Linked DNA regions of Homo sapiens: all the other regions are linked to region 1. The links are contacts of gene promoters, found by promoter capture Hi-C in human tissues and cell types (Jung and others, 2019). All regions are on one chromosome and are shown on one strand. The core of a region is centred on a gene start or on the middle of the fragment in contact, and the rest is flanking DNA. Distances in the headings are between cores, read along the strand shown. Region 1 holds the start of ETV5 (ETS variant transcription factor 5). Region 2 has its middle 3.6 kb from the start of DGKG. Region 3 overlaps LINC02052 (long intergenic non-protein coding RNA 2052). Region 4 has its middle 8.2 kb from the start of CRYGS. Region 5 has its middle 15 kb from the start of LINC02020.

Region 1 (2,939 bases), core at 102-2,601:
GGACCCCCATTGCTAGGGGCTCTCTCCTGTCACTTAGCATCTTTCCTCCCCACCGCTGGCACGCGGCGTGAATGGCAGGGCACTCCAGCAGGACGAGAACAGAGCTCCGTCACAGGCCCCCAGCATCCCCGGAGAGAAGATAGAGCCGCCCCACGGCCTTCACAGGAGGGGGTAAGGGGGCGGAGAGGGGAGAGGATTGTTTGTTTATTTGTTTCCTGGAACACCCTGTTAAGAATCTCAGCAATTGCAGTTAGTGCCCTATCGTTTGGCAAGCAGAGCCGCTTCTCGTCGTTCCCAGCTGCACGGGATCTAATTCGCAAATACACCATCTTGCATTCAATACTTAAATGGAAAACAAGCAGCCCGGGGAGGGAGGCAAAAAGTCTGAGTCTGCATGCCCGTTTCGGAGGGATTTAGGTTTCCAGGTCGGTGGACTGGCTGCTGCTGTCCCCGGAGAGGATTTCTTTGAGCCCGAACCCTGTCTCACCTCGACTACAGAACCCACTCTGGCGGAGGTTACGAGCCGCAGTTAAAGAGAAAACGGGATTTGGTTGGGTCTTAGGCCTTGCCAGTACAAAATAGTAACAAAAATCTGTTTGAGAGCTGAGATTTTAAAAGGAGATGCTGCTTATTCTTCCCACTGGAAACCTGGTTAAAAGAAATTAAGGCCTCTCTTAAAGGTAACTAAGATTAGAGGGCTCGGTTTCCGTTTTCTGTGTTTCTGTGGGCTAAACGCCCAGGTCGGTCAGCGAGTTTGTGTGGAATGACGAATTCCTCTCCCCTGAATTCTAAAATGATAACTTTGCTTGGTGCTGCAGCTGCGAACGTCTGGCGCCAAGAGACCCAATTCTGGTCGGGGCTTTGCTGGATGGAGAAGTGGGGGTGAGTGGGTAAGGGGGAAGAGTCGTGCCTCGGTGAAAAGTCGGGAGAGCGGCGAGAAGGGAAGTAACGGCGGCTCCTCCTGGCCTCGGCCCCTTTAAGTGCTTCACTGACTCAGCTAAGCTTCCCCCTCAGGTCGCGTTTTTTATGAATGAAAAACGTCCTTACATTCATTATATAAACAAGCCTGTGCTGATTGGCCAATGGCCCCCGGTGCATAAATTATGTAAAACAGACCCCTGAGGGGGTGGAGAGAGATGCACCGCTGGCCAATGGGGGCCGGAGTTGATGGGGCGGCTTGGTTGGATTTGCCCGCAGACAGGGTAAACAAGAGGTGATGGACAGCCGCGGGAACGGCCTCTGGCCAATGGGAACAAGGCTGGGCTAGGGCCGCGGGCCAATGGCGGCGGGCGGAGCAGCGAGCCGCGGGGGGCCGGGCCAGCGCTCCAGCCTGGTTGGCAGCTGCGGCGCAGAGTCCAGCCGCTGGTGCGCGGAGCGGTTCACCGTCTTCGGAGCGGTTCGGCCCAGCCTTTCGCCCAGGCGCCCAGGCCCGCTGCGCGCGTGCGTGAGCGCGCCTGCGCCGCCGGGGCCGCTGCAAGGGGAGGAGAGAGGCCGCCTCAGGTGAGGGGGCTTTGCGGGGGCAGGGGGGAGATCGGAAGGGGCGTCCGGCCACTGGTCCGACAGGCCCAGCCGGCTAGAGTTCACGGGCTGATTCAGAATCTTCAAAGTCGGGGTGCAGTAGCTGGGGTGACCCCCCCCGGGTTGACCGCCCCCTCCCCCCGCGGCCCGGTCCGGTTTGGTTCCTGGGAGGCGTCGGGCGGGTGCGGCTAACGGTTCCGGAGCGCGGGGAGAGCGGCTTTCCACACGTCGTGGGGGAGGCGCCCCGGAGCGCGAGTGCGGGGGCTCCCGAGTGGATGGGGGATCGCGGAGTTGCGAGGCTTTCACAGTCTCTGGAGATTCGAGAGCCCCGAGGGGACTTGGAGGCTCGCGAGAAGAGACGCTTGGCGGAGCTCCGCAGTTGGGAGGAGGGGGCGGGAAGCAGTTTGAGGGGAATGTCTGAGAGGCGCTGCCCCCCAGAGCACCGGGAGGGGGTAAATGACACAGGCAAGTGCAGCCTGCGGGGGCGGGGGTCGACCAGGAACTTACGCAGGCCTTGCAAGTTTCAGGTGGTGGAAAGTGGACATCCAGTCGCCCTGCTCCCACCCAGCAGGCTGAGGGCGTCCGGCTGTGCGGCGACTCGAGAAAATCGGGGCGCACCGGAACAGCGGCCTGGGGATGGTGGGGATAACACGGGTGTGGAGGGGACAGCACCGAAAGATGCTGCAGCCTCGCAGCGGATTAGGGTTCCGGCCGCATTTTCAGAGGGTGGAGAAAACTCGGGGGGGAACCGAACTCCTGGTCGACGAGGGGGTGCCAGGGAGAGATGTTGGGGGTGGGGGGATTGGAAGCGGTTGGTAGCGCCGGGCGCCGCACCTCGTTTTTATGAATGTGGGTGACTTTATGAATGAAGCGGGTTTCTTTCGTTGGCTCGCTGCTCCCTGCGGCTTTTTTTTTTTTCTTCCCTTTTTGTGAATGAAGCATTGAGCTTTCTTCCTAAAACGCTGGGGTGAGGGGCCTGCGTCGGAGGCTGGGCGTGCGTTGGAAATGGGGGCGGGGGCGCAGCTGAAGGAGTTTTCATGAATGGGGAAGGCTGAGAATTGGGTGGAAGTGTGTCTTGTTTTGTGAATGGGGCCCAGCGCTAGAGATCCAGTTACAGCCTCTACCTGATGTGGCGGCCGCGGCTCGCTCTCCCATTCATAAAACCGGGCCCGCTGCGCGCCACAGGGGAGGGGCCTGGATCGCGCCGCTGCGCTGTGCTAAAGTTTTCCTGGGGGCGCCCGGGGCGCGGGTGGTGGGGGGGCAAAGGAAGTGGTTTAAACTCCTGGATGAACTCGAGCCTTTCCTTCAGGCTTTTAAAAAAATTATACTTGGAATACAATTTTTCTAACCCTGGAATGCCTCTTTTCCGTTCGTTTATGGCAGTTTATTTCTTTTAATTTTTTAGAATTTTTTTTGCTCTT
Region 2 (3,167 bases), core at 265-2,764, 260 kb before region 1:
CAATTGCTAACATGTTGTGACATTTTGTCCCCCCAAATTGGTTAACAGGAGATAAAGAAGTGACCAGGATTTCTAAAACTAGACTGATCTTTTCAAAAGTTTTGCGGGCTGGGCAGGCTTTGAAGCAAATGGTCATTTAGGGAGTTAGAACCTTTTCCCCTCTGTGGCTCTTCCCAGCGTTTCCTGTGAAAAGCTTCCCCTCCAGGGACAACAGTGAAGAGTTCCACGGCGGTGTCTCTTGACCAGACATAGCAGAAAACAGACCTGGAGTAATGTAGTGAACCCAAATTAGCCTTTTTACAAGCTCATTAAAGCATAAAGTTTAACATCCTTTGCCCAAAATATAACAGAAAGAAGAAAGCCTCCTTTTTTCTCCCTACTCACTCACGCCTCCTTCCCCTCTTTCCACCATCTGTCTCCGGATAGGCAAGCATCAAAGCAGGATCTTGGATGGGTAGGTGTCTCCTTCACTGTCAAGTAAACACAATCAAAGTTCCTGGGAAATCCACTGTGGGCAACTCCAGTGACACTGTAGAATTCCAGGCAGGGGGCAGATGTGCACTCTGGTAGTCCTGAAGTCCACCAGCATCTTTCATGTTAAAATATTACTATATTTTAATGTGGTGTATAAAGAGTTGCTGACCTGAATTGCTGTTTCTTAGGAAGCAGACACATTAGCAAGTAGTATAATAACTAGGCTTTAAAAAATAGACTACCTTAAGGGAACAGACTATCTTCAATAACTGTATTTTACATTTTTGCATAGCACTTCTAAAACACTTTCAAATAAGCTTCTTCATTTAATCATTACCTTGAGATGCATGTATTACTATCCCCACTTTGCAGAAGAGGAAATTGGAGCTTAGAGACTCAGATTAGCTCTTTTGACTCCATCTAATTCTAAATTATCTATTTATTATTCTGAACCCCATGGCTTCTCCTTTGTGCTTTCCTTCAAGCTTATCAGTTGATATTGTGAGAATTTTCCCAGCTTGCCTTGTGGAGGGCCCCACCCAGGCAAGGGGGCGGTACTTAAAAGTTGTTCAGTTGCTAGTACTTAACAGAGTATCAGTGCCAGAAAGGGTTGTAGGGACCATTTCCAGCCTCCTTATTTTCTAAGAAAACTAAAATGAGGGAATCTCCTGCCTACATTCCCAGGGCTGGATCCCAAATCCCATTCATGGCAAAACTGTGACCAGGAGCTCCTGGTTCTCCTGTTTCCAACCCACAGTCTCACTCCACCACAGCCTTCACAGTCAAAACCAAGAGGAAAGTTAAGGTTCGGACTTGGCTAGTATCTGTTCCCATCCTGTCATTGCTTGATAACATGGAAAGATTCCATTAATTATGAGATCATAAAATATTAGGTGGAAGACAGCTTGGAGATAATCTGGTATAATCCTTTGTGTTCTGTACATGGGAAAAGTGAGGCCTAAGAAGGCGAGCAGAACCCCCCCGGCCCACCTTGCGGTTGGTGACCCTGAACTCAGCTGTGCTCCAACTGTCAAGTGCTGTTCGCTCAGCTTGTCAGAGACAGTGGGACTAAAAATTTCCAGACACAGGTACCTGACTCAGCCCTCGCTTTGCCTTGGCAGTGGAGATCAGGCATCAGCTGCTGGCTTGGATGATGTGTTCCCAGAGCAACATGGTGAGTGTGAGCTGCCAACATTGAAGTCTCAGGGAATGTAAAGTGTTGAACCAGTTAAACATCCAAAAATGCCCCGTCTCTCAGAAACAAGGGTGACTCATCACAGCGCTTGGGCTACAATTGGGAATGGCATTAGGGTGGCTGTGGCGGCTAAAAATCCATGCTTAGAAGCCCCCAGCTTCGTTTCCTCTGGCTTTTTGTTCGCAGGTCTTTTCTCTGGCTGAGAACCAACATACACATGCTCCACTGCCAAACCCAGCCCTCCTCCTCCATGAAGCCTGCCTTGACTCTTTCAGCCCAGAGGAGGTCTCCTTTCTCAAGCCCTGAGAATCTGCCCTGTGCAATTTGGCACTTGATTCCATACTGTCGTTCACTGTTTCTTAACCAGTGGAGCGTTTGTTTTATAACTGACATGGATTGCAAAATCTTTGAGGAGAGGCACTAAGCTTCCTCCTCTGTACCCTACAGTAAGTCTCAGGGTGTCACCACAGAGCAGAGACATGCTCAGACTCACAGATAGTCCTGACCTCAAGACTCTTTCTGCTTTACCTTATGTTTGCACATACAGCAAATGCCCAATAAATCCTCACTTGTTTCACCGTAGCTTCAGCCTTTTCAAATAAAGAGCTCAGTTGCAGGGCCTCTGTCAGCCCATGCAAATTAGAGAAAAGGCATCCCTCCCTCCAGGCAGACATAACCCTAACAGGTTGTGTGGCTGGGCAAGTGGGGCATGAGTTGGATTTCAGCCCCTTAGCTGGGTGCCCTCTGCAGCAAGCCACATAAGCCACCTGGGCTCTGGCTCTTCGTGAGAGCAGCAACAAGGACTCCCTCCCCACAGTGCTCCATTCTGATGGGGAAGGCCTACCTTGGGAAAGCTGGCATCAGATACTTCCCAGCTTGCTTCCCAGCTCATTTCCCATCAAAAACAAACAACAAAAAATCCACACCTGCCATAGCTCCTCACTGTGGAACCCAAGTCTATGCTCCCAGAAGAGCATTTGGAGACTCCCACAATACTGTCCCAGCCTTCTTTTCTTGTGCTGGGAAGACCCAGAACTCACCATGAATTGTCCTACGTCTCTGCTTTTGCTTTCTCCCAGCCTAGATTGCCCTTGTCCTGTTGATCTTTAAGTGAGATCTCTATTCCCCTTTAAAATCCGATCGCAAACCCTACCTCCTCCATGATGCCTCCATTAGCACTAATTGTTCTTGGTGCTTCTTCCCGCCCCATCCCTCTTTGCCTTCCACATTGCTTCAGCCTCTACTACCACCCTTTTCCTCCATGTTATTAGCATGTAACTCAGTCCACACAGCCTTCTCTGAACTCCTTCTGCAGCAACTCAGATGCATCATTTGGCTCCATCCTGATCCTAAAGGAATCCATTTGCAAGCAAACCGATGAACAATATTGACTTTACAAATGATTTCTTTCATAGGACCGGGGGCTTTCATAGCCCACCCCACAGCAAACTACTTACCAATCTTTGCAAGCATCTCCCCTGTCCAAATCCCTGGACAA
Region 3 (2,959 bases), core at 414-2,913, 380 kb before region 1:
ATGGTAGATAAGGACTTAGTTTTCATATACTAATGCTCCTTCTCATTTTGTCTCTTGCATCTTCCAAATATAGTTATTTCACAATGTTTGGTTAAATTGACAGTCCATATTTCATTCTGGCTATACAAATATTTTTCATGGTTGAATCAAGAAGTGGGCTATATTATGCTTTAATTCTTATATGGCCCTTAGTTTTTCCAGGGCTTGTAATTTATGTTTCACATTTGCGTGCTTTTCTGCAGTGTTATTTCCCCCCAAATGTTCCATCATCCCTAACTTATTCCAATCTACTGAATTTTCTCTAAGCTTTACCACATCACTTTCATGTATTTTTTCCCCAGAGACTGTTTCTGGTTTAAAGTTCTTTCTCATAGTATCATGTTCTTGTTTTATGATGCAATATCATTTCTTTTTTCCTTTTTATTTTTTTTTTCTTGAGAGAGTCTTGTTCTGTTGCCCAGGCTGGAGTGCAGTGGCATGATCTCGCCTCACTGCAACCTCTGCCTTCTGGGTTCAAGTGATTCTCCTGCCTCAGCCTCCCGAGTAGCATGCCACCACACCCGGCTAATTTTTTTGTATTTTTAGTAGAGACAGGGTTTCACCATATTGGCCAGGCTGGTCTTGAACTCCTGACCCTGTGATCTGCCCACCTCGTCCTCCCAAAGTGCTGGGATTACAGGCATGAGCCACTGTGCCCGGCCGCAATATCATTTCTAATGTTCCCTATATTGTCTGTTTCCCCCCACATTCCTTTTTCTTTTCTGGATATTTTGTCTCTCCTATGTTGGAAGCTTTCCTCATATGTCATATCCTTGGCTATCTATTCATGTTAAGAGTGAGGCACTAAAAGTCTTGTAGGAAGCTCTGCAGTGTGTGCATAGAGCTGTTAGCTGATTGGCTTTTCTTTAGGGTTTTCAAACCCTGAGCCATCATTTTCACAGGGACAAACTCAAGTATCAGCTTCCTGGCTATGTGGGATGAGGAGGGGACCTGGGATCCCAACACACTCTATGCAGACTTTCAACCAGTGACTCTTGTTTTCAGACCAACGCCTCATCCCTTTTCTCAGCAGAGCCTCCAAATCCCAAACCTCTCATGATTTCTCTGGGTTCCTCTTCATGCCAAATTTTTTATGACAGACCCTTAAGTTATACTTTGCTCCTGTCCACTGAGTCAGCAACCACTTCTTCGTTTGCTATTTGTCCTCCAAAAACTCATCTAAATGTCTTGTCTGCTGTTGCTCTCCTGTTCTTCTTGTCCTTGTGCCCATTTTTATTCTTTACTATCATTTTGGCAAGGTTTTGGTAGGGCAGAGAAAGAACAACTGTAGTCAATCAGCTTTTTAAAACTGAAACCTATTATATGAGTTCTAAAACATTGAGCCTCCCAAAAGAAAGGAAGTAGAGTCTCGATTCCTTTCTTCTAGAAATCTCCTTGCCACCTACAGAAACTTGCAGACTTATTTCTTTTTTCTTTTCTTTTTGTTTTTTGTTTTGAGACGGAGTCTCACTCTGTCACCCAGGCTGGAGTGCAGTGGCACGATCTCAGCTCACTGCAAGCTCCACCTCCCAGGTTCACGCCATTCTCCTGCCTCAGCCTCCCGAGTAGTTGGGACTACAGGTGCCCGCCACCATGCCCGGCTAATTTTTTTGTATTTTTAGTAGAGACGGGGTTTCACAGTGTTAGCCAGGCTAGTCTCAAATTCCTGACCTCAAGTGATCCACCTGCCTCGGCCTCCCAAAGTGCTGGGATTACAGGCGTGAGCCATCATGCTTAGCCACAATCAAACAAATTTTAAGTAAAATCTGAAAAACTGGGAAGAAAAAAAATTAAAAGAGGCATTTTGAGCAAAGTGCAGGAGAAGGAGGAAACAAATGTAATAACTGCCTCCCTCCTGCCAACTGGTTGACTATAGAAACTTTGCACCTTATAAAATGTGGTTTCACATCATGCAAGGGCCCAGCTGGAGCAGTAGGTGAGAGAGCCACAGGGAATGAGTCTGAGGAACAACAAATGGTACAAACCTTTGATGAGGCTGGTGAGGAAGGCAGCAGGGGGGCGACAAAGCCCCAGGGAGAATGATTTGGAGGAATCTAAGAGATCATATTTCCCAACACTCTGTGCCTAAAGGGCCTGCCTGTAAGTCATACAACCAGTTAGTACAAAGTCTGGGAAAAGAGGAGTCCCAGGGCTCCCCACGGCTCTTCCTCCTAACCCCGCAAATGGGAGTGACAGATCTGGAGAAAGTATTTAATTCCACAAAGCAGGCACAGCCCTGTGATCTGCGTTAATCTGATTTTATCCACCCTATTCTGGCTCCTCCTGCAGGGGATGGAATCTCAAGGGAAACTCAGGCTTCAATGAGCTGGGCTACCTCTCATTCCAATGACCTGCTGCCTTGGCATCTCCAGAGGCCAGTGGCAAAGAGTGCCCCTCCAGCCTGACGTGTTGGGTCCAGAGAAAAGAGTGGGGGATTATAGCTAAACCACTTTACCAGGATTCTTGCAGAAACTGAGGCCCAAGGTTGAGGCCTAGTTGAGAAGAGAGCTCAGAGGCACTTCACTGAGGTCTGAATAAGGAGAGAGTTTTGAGAGTTTTTGTCCATCCTTCCTCTTGTGCAAGGAAAGAACATCTTTCTTTCCTCTGAACAATATAAGTCTGTTGCTTGTTCAGTTGCCTTTATTCATTAAGGACTATCTGAAGCATGTGTAGAGATTAGATAGGAGAGAATATTTAATGAGGGAAATTTCTATGAAAATAAAAAGCAGTACAAAGATGAGTGGTTGGAGCAGACAATAAACCCAGTTTCTGAGTCCAGAGGGCAGCCAAGATTGCTACACGTTAGACTCGAGACATCTTTAGACGGTGGAGTGAGGACGGCAGTGGCAAGCTGACAGGTTTCCTGGTTTGCAGTGTGAATGTCTTTGGTGATGGCATAGACATGAGGGCCACAGTCATG
Region 4 (2,846 bases), core at 121-2,620, 430 kb before region 1:
CAAAATATGTTTATTCATGTTGTTATCTTCCCCTCCCTTTTGTCATTTTGTCTGTTTCAAGTGAGAGACTGAAAAAAGTGGGTGTAAGTAAGGGAGGGAAACCTGACAAATGGAGAAGGAATGGGAGGCCATTTGCTGAGCTGCAAAGAGCTCTGGCCTGTGAGCTGACTGCAGCCATCAGCTCTGGATCTTGCCACCATACCATGAAGCTACCTTTCCTTATCTCCAAAACAAGGGAGTTGAGCCAAATGCTCTCTGGAGTCTCATCCAACACAAACATTCTAATTCCCCAGACACCAGCAGGAGGACATTAAAAAACTAGCTGATGACCAAGGACTACTGACACTTACTTTTAGAGGCATAATTTCTGGAAGTGACCTCAGAAATCCACTGATTTTTTGCCAAAGAAATAGGCTGTGATAAGTAAGTTAGTATCAGTCTCTTTTCTCATATCAACTGCTTGCCATGTTCTTTGGTGAGTTGGTCACAGTCTGTTCAACTAGAAAAGCAGTTCTGGCAGCAGGGTAGGAAAACAAGAAGTGTCAGGATGACTAACCACAGTTTCAGAGAAGTAGAAGATGGCTTTTGACAGATAAAAGCAGGATTATTATTTTGGAGTGTTGCATGCCTCCTGGTTCATGCCTTGGTCCAGAAAGAGATTGCTATCATTTTCTCCAGTTGCAGACACACCAATCAACTTTCTGCTTAAAAGGAATTTGACTAACAATTGATATTAGAGGTCAAAAACACTTTATATCCTTATCTATCAGTCAGTCCCAGCTCTTTTGGTAGAACATTCAGCTGTTAGGACAAGAAGCTGGTGTCTTACCTGTCACCCACACCCAGAACAGCACCTGATAATTCAGTTATCTCCCCCTACCTTTTATTGTTTTATCGCTCTGAAATGGGGGATCTCAATAAAATAAAGCAAGGGCACCCTTAAACCATTTTAACCCTATTTCCATCACAAGAATTTCTCTAAGACAAGTCTCTGAATATTCCCATATATGGAGCTCACTGTCTATTGGGATAGAAAAATAAACATAAGTATGTCCCAAATGTTACATGGGACATACTTACACTAAGAAATTGTCATTTGTCTGAAATTCAAATTTAACTGTATCCTATATTTTTATTTGCTAAATCTGACAACCCTACTTCAAGGACAAGGCAAGTTACACAGGAGTGACATGGGGCTAAGAGCAGAGAGTGGTGCAAGCTGTGAAAATGAGCACATTCCCCAATAGAAGGGCATTTAAATACTTTTTTTTTTTTTTAAATCACTACACACCAACAAAATACATCTGCATCTGAATGTGGCTTGTGGACCACCAGTTTCCAATCTTGGCTGTAGGACAGCTCTGAATATCAGAAATTGTTTTTTAGATTGAGCCAAAATCTGATCCCTGAAGCTTTCAACCTGCAATCCTAGTTTTCATCCATAGGATATAGCTCTTTAGGTATTTAAAGATGCCTCCAGTTTGCTTCCATGCTGGCATTTCTACACTGAGCAATGCCTGTTTCTTTCATCCTTTCTCTCCTCATGTGTGGGCTCCCAGACTCCTCACCATCCTGGTGCCTCTCTTCGAGCTAATGGTCATTTCTCTCTCCCCACTGTCATAGCTGTATGTAGTCTGACCAGTGCAGACTACAGCTGGAGGATTATGTTCAGTTCTTTCATCTTTTTTCTCTGATCTATGCTGTTCTTAACTAAGCTCAGCTCTCCCTGTGGCCCAGCCCTGATATGGATGACTGGCTACCTTTCCCTAAGAGCCAACTCTCCAGTCAAAGGGCTAAAGAGTTCTCTTCCTCTTTGGGTAGTTAGACAGAAATGGATTCAAATTCTGCCACTTCCATATGTTAGCTCTAAGTCACATAATCTAACATGTATATCCTCAATTTTCTGTGAAACTAACATAACACCTAATCTGTGGGCATTAAAATGAGATAATATGTGAAAAATATGTAGCATATACAGTTAATTCTCATTATTTTCTGTAATTATACTCCATAAAAATACCTCAAACACTGAATTGCAAATATTGAATTATTGCTCTTAGATAAAATACTAGGTTAAGTTCCTGTAAGCCTCTGGTCACATTTTTGTCAACTGATCAATGCATAAACTTTTTTCATATGTGTTTCTCTTTAAAGACTCTTGAATATATGTTGTGGATTCATTAACATGGAGCTCAGGACCAGCAGCACTCTAACTGCTGCCTGAAGAAAGATGATCTAACAGGTATCTCAGTAAGGCACGTCGCAGCCTTCTCATGCTTAGGAACACTAGACAGCCCTTCAGCACTACATTTGGGGATGTTTTCAACAGTGAAATTACCAACGAAGAACAGTGCAATGCGGAAAGCATGACACTAAATGGGTTGAAAGGAGACTTGTTTACAGTATGGGAGCTGAAACAAGAAGGGGGAGCATTTGTTCGACCTTAGCTGGGAATATACTCATTGGATGACTCAAATTTTTCACTGCTCTGCTCATATCCATAAATGATCACAAGAGCACCACGATTAGTGATTTTGCGATTACAATGAAATTGGAGGGAGTGGGTGAATTTGCAAGTATGAAATCTATGTTATAATGAGGGTCACCAGTTCTTTACCACCATGGTTGTCATATTAGTACTGTTTCTGAGTAGTAAAGTACTGCTATTATCAGTTTTGTGTGTGTGTGTGTGTGTGTGTGTGTGTGTGTGTGTGTGTTTTAACTTGTCTAGCTTTTTAAATCCCTGTTTCTACCCCCTAGTTGTTTTCAGAAAAGCATTTCTGCATTTTTGGCAGATGCCTCATAATTGGGAAGAAATATATCAGAATGGTCCAACCCATCCTACT
Region 5 (2,838 bases), core at 304-2,803, 320 kb before region 1:
TGTGCGTATTTTTGGCTCTGAGACCAAATATGTAAACACAATAAACATATGCCAAATGAAGGAAATCTTATTGCATGGTCAAATTTCATGCCATGCCCCGAAGGGATATTTTGTAAGTGCAGTGAGTTCCGAGGATACACAGGCATTTGCTAAATTGGGGCCTTTGGTGGCATTTACTCTTTAAAGGAATTATTTGCTCTTTCTGCATTTTTATACTACCCCATCTGGAACTTTTCCCTTAACCTCCCTTATAAGTCCCTCAGTTGAGTTAAATTCTCTCTTACTTTGGTAAAAGCACCATTCACACTGAGGTGCGTAAGACGCAGGAGTTCAGGACCTTGGCAGTCTGAAAATACACTTGTGGTTTGGATTAATATTCTCTTTTTCTGTTTTTAATCCTCTTGCATATTTACGTAAGACTTTTCCCCTCTGGGGTTCCTGTTGCTTCTTAGCTGTGATCTGTTCCTCCCAGCTTCTCCTAGAGGCAGTAAATGGGTATTGCCATGCCATTCAGGACCAAGGAGGATCCTTCTTCATGTAGTGAGTCCAGGAGGCTTCAGCACTAACAGCCCCTCACTCCCCATCCCCAGGCAACCTTGAGCTAGTCTCTTCTTCCATCTCTACCCAACTTCCTTGCCATCCTGCACTAAGTTACTTTAATAACTCTCTGGCTTAGTCAGCAGTGTCGCTTACGACCATTGCCTGAGAACAGATAGGATACTTTCACAATCAGTGTAGTCCAGGCACCAATCAGTCAGAATGAACATTCTAGAGCTGCAGCAGTGACCTTCGGGGCCAGGCATTCACCCTGGCGGGAGTGGGCAGAGGTCTGGGGAGTCCCAGTTGAGGAGCTGGGGCAAATGGGATAGCTGGTAGCATTCCGGTGGTTCAGATAGCAGTTCTTTTCCAAGGAATACAGAAATACTTAATCATTTTTAACAACTGGGGCAGTTTTGGCTGTGTGTATTGCCCTACCAAAGAATAAAGCTTGGGATTATTATTAGATATCCCTTGAGTGAGGACAAAGGTAATTTACTCAATTCGTTTGCTGCCTTTATGCAGATTGTGAGCAAGTTGGGAGTCTTGCATAAATTTTCCTTCAAAGAGGTTGAGAGCAGCCTTTCTCTTCTCTCTGAAGTTCGCCCTAAAAGTCATGCCTATTCTCCTTGTGTCTTCTTTAGTTGACCCCAGGTTGCACCTGGTTGTATCATGCCCCCCTCCCCCAACCCCCTGTCTCTTCCTTCTCTTTTCTAGGAGTTCAAGCAGCTTACCGAGGCTTAAAATAGACAGTAATAGCAGCTCTCAGTTTGTTATTTTGTATGTACTCCGTATCCTTAACACTTGTCAAGGATAAAAACACACTCAAGAAACACACTTTGCTTTCAGTAACTTCATTTTTCAGAGAAAAAAAAGTAGACGGAGTCAGCTCTCAAGACAGCTGTAGCTGTATATGCAGGTATAGCACTACAGAAAACCAGCCAAGCAGAACCACAGAGGCGTGACCCACCAAAGACTGAGCTCTGCCTCCTCCTGCGCAGCCATGGCCACCACTGACCGAGCACTGCCCAACACCTGATCTTTGTTTGTTTTGAGATGGAGTTTCGCTCTTGTTGCCCAGGCTGGAGTGCAGTGGCGCGATCTCGGCTCACCGCATCCTGGGTTCAAGCGATTCCCCTGCCTCAGCCTCCCGAATAGTTGGGACTACAGGCTCGTGCCACCACACCCGGCTAATTTTTTTTTTTTTTTTTTTTTTTTGTATTTTTAGTAGAGGCGAGGTTTCACCATGTTGGCCAGGCTTGTCTTGAACTCCTGACCTCAGGTGATCCACCCACCTCGGCCTCCCAGAGTGCTGGGATTACAGGCATGAGCCACCACGCCCGGCCCAACCACCGGATATTTATGCCCGTCTGGGACCCTCAGAGCTTTCTCAAAGGGATTCCCAAAATAACTCATTTTAACACTTGGTTTTTGGCCACTCATTCCTTAAGCCTAATTCCGCTAATCACAGTTACTTCACAAGAACCTAAATATGCACTGGGTTACCTCTGTTGTACGTTTCAAGTGATCATGCCACCAAACTTTGCATCCAGTGTCTTCTGTTGTTCGTGTGGTCATATCAGTCTAATTTTACTTTTATTGTTAGTTGCCTGACGTAGGACGTTATTTTAGATTCTGCGTGAGATTGTAACGTTCACTTATATGCTTGTTGTAACTATCTAAATATTTCAGTGGAGTAAAAAGGCTGATTGGCACAGGAATGTCCAGCTGATGAACAGGTCATTTAGGATTTCCTTTCTCTGGACAGACAGTCAGAACCACTGTTGGAAGGGGAGGCACCACCTTGGGAGCTGATTGTTCTTTTTGTCAGATGGTTGGCCTGGGAAAAGTAAATCTGCAGAAAGCTGTTTCCTCCTAATGTAAATTCTAAACTTGACATTAGATAGCTGCTCCAACAGTATGAGATTCCCCAGAACTCAGCATAAAACTTACTACCTTTTATGATCTGTTGAATGTGAAAGAAAATTTGTTTGGCTATTGGTTTCGAGACCAAGATGACAAACAGCCCTCCCATGATATTACCCTGAAAACATTTGATTCCTTTCAGTCAGTGGATAATCGAACCCAAAAGGTTATTAGCTAATTCTTATAGAAAATTGTTCAAGTTATCATTCTTGGTCTCTTCTTGAGGTAATGAAATTCATAGCTGTAGAAAGTATTGTGTTTTTAAGCTTCACTGGTCTTTCTTTATTTTCTGGCATTTTGCAAACATCAGTTTGTTCTCTTCTGAAGGTTAACACTTTTATAGCTGATCATATTCCATGTCAAGCCTTTCAATTT

The links. The method cuts DNA at HindIII sites, captures the fragments that hold promoters and counts their contacts. A contact is called where the count stands out against the background at its distance.
Region 2: a fragment that was not itself captured here is called in contact with the fragment with the promoter of ETV5 in region 1 in 3 of the 25 tissues and cell types used here (hippocampus, mesenchymal stem cells and spleen).
Region 3: a fragment that was not itself captured here is called in contact with the fragment with the promoter of ETV5 in region 1 in 1 of the 25 tissues and cell types used here (neural progenitor cells).
Region 4: a contact is called between a fragment that was not itself captured here and the fragment with the promoter of ETV5 in region 1, in 3 of the 25 tissues and cell types used here (H1 embryonic stem cells, lymphoblastoid cells and spleen).
Region 5: a contact is called between a fragment that was not itself captured here and the fragment with the promoter of ETV5 in region 1, in 2 of the 25 tissues and cell types used here (lymphoblastoid cells and small bowel).

Annotation. Positions count from the first base shown.
Region 1 is chr3:186,107,501-186,110,439 of GRCh38, reverse strand. It overlaps ETV5 (ETS variant transcription factor 5), which reads left to right and starts at 1,351. Exons shown (of 13, transcript NM_004454.3): 1 at 1,351-1,500. RefSeq lists silencers at 1,039-1,668, 1,699-1,798 and enhancers at 832-1,810, 2,569-2,628. The HindIII fragment of the contact is 3,753 bases long and covers 1-2,681 here.
Region 2 is chr3:186,364,250-186,367,416 of GRCh38, reverse strand. No RefSeq gene overlaps it. Among named protein-coding and RNA genes, the nearest start is that of DGKG, 3.6 kb to the right of the region's middle. The HindIII fragment of the contact is 3,187 bases long and covers 1-3,107 here.
Region 3 is chr3:186,487,124-186,490,082 of GRCh38, reverse strand. The region is part of intron 2 of LINC02052 (long intergenic non-protein coding RNA 2052); the gene reads left to right. Among named protein-coding and RNA genes, the nearest start is that of LINC02052, 5.1 kb to the left of the region's middle. The HindIII fragment of the contact is 3,693 bases long and covers 1-2,959 here.
Region 4 is chr3:186,534,783-186,537,628 of GRCh38, reverse strand. No RefSeq gene overlaps it. Among named protein-coding and RNA genes, the nearest start is that of CRYGS, 8.2 kb to the left of the region's middle. The HindIII fragment of the contact is 5,360 bases long and covers 1-2,846 here.
Region 5 is chr3:186,423,767-186,426,604 of GRCh38, reverse strand. No RefSeq gene overlaps it. Among named protein-coding and RNA genes, the nearest start is that of LINC02020, 15 kb to the left of the region's middle. RefSeq lists a silencer at 1,586-1,675. The HindIII fragment of the contact is 6,433 bases long and covers 1-2,838 here.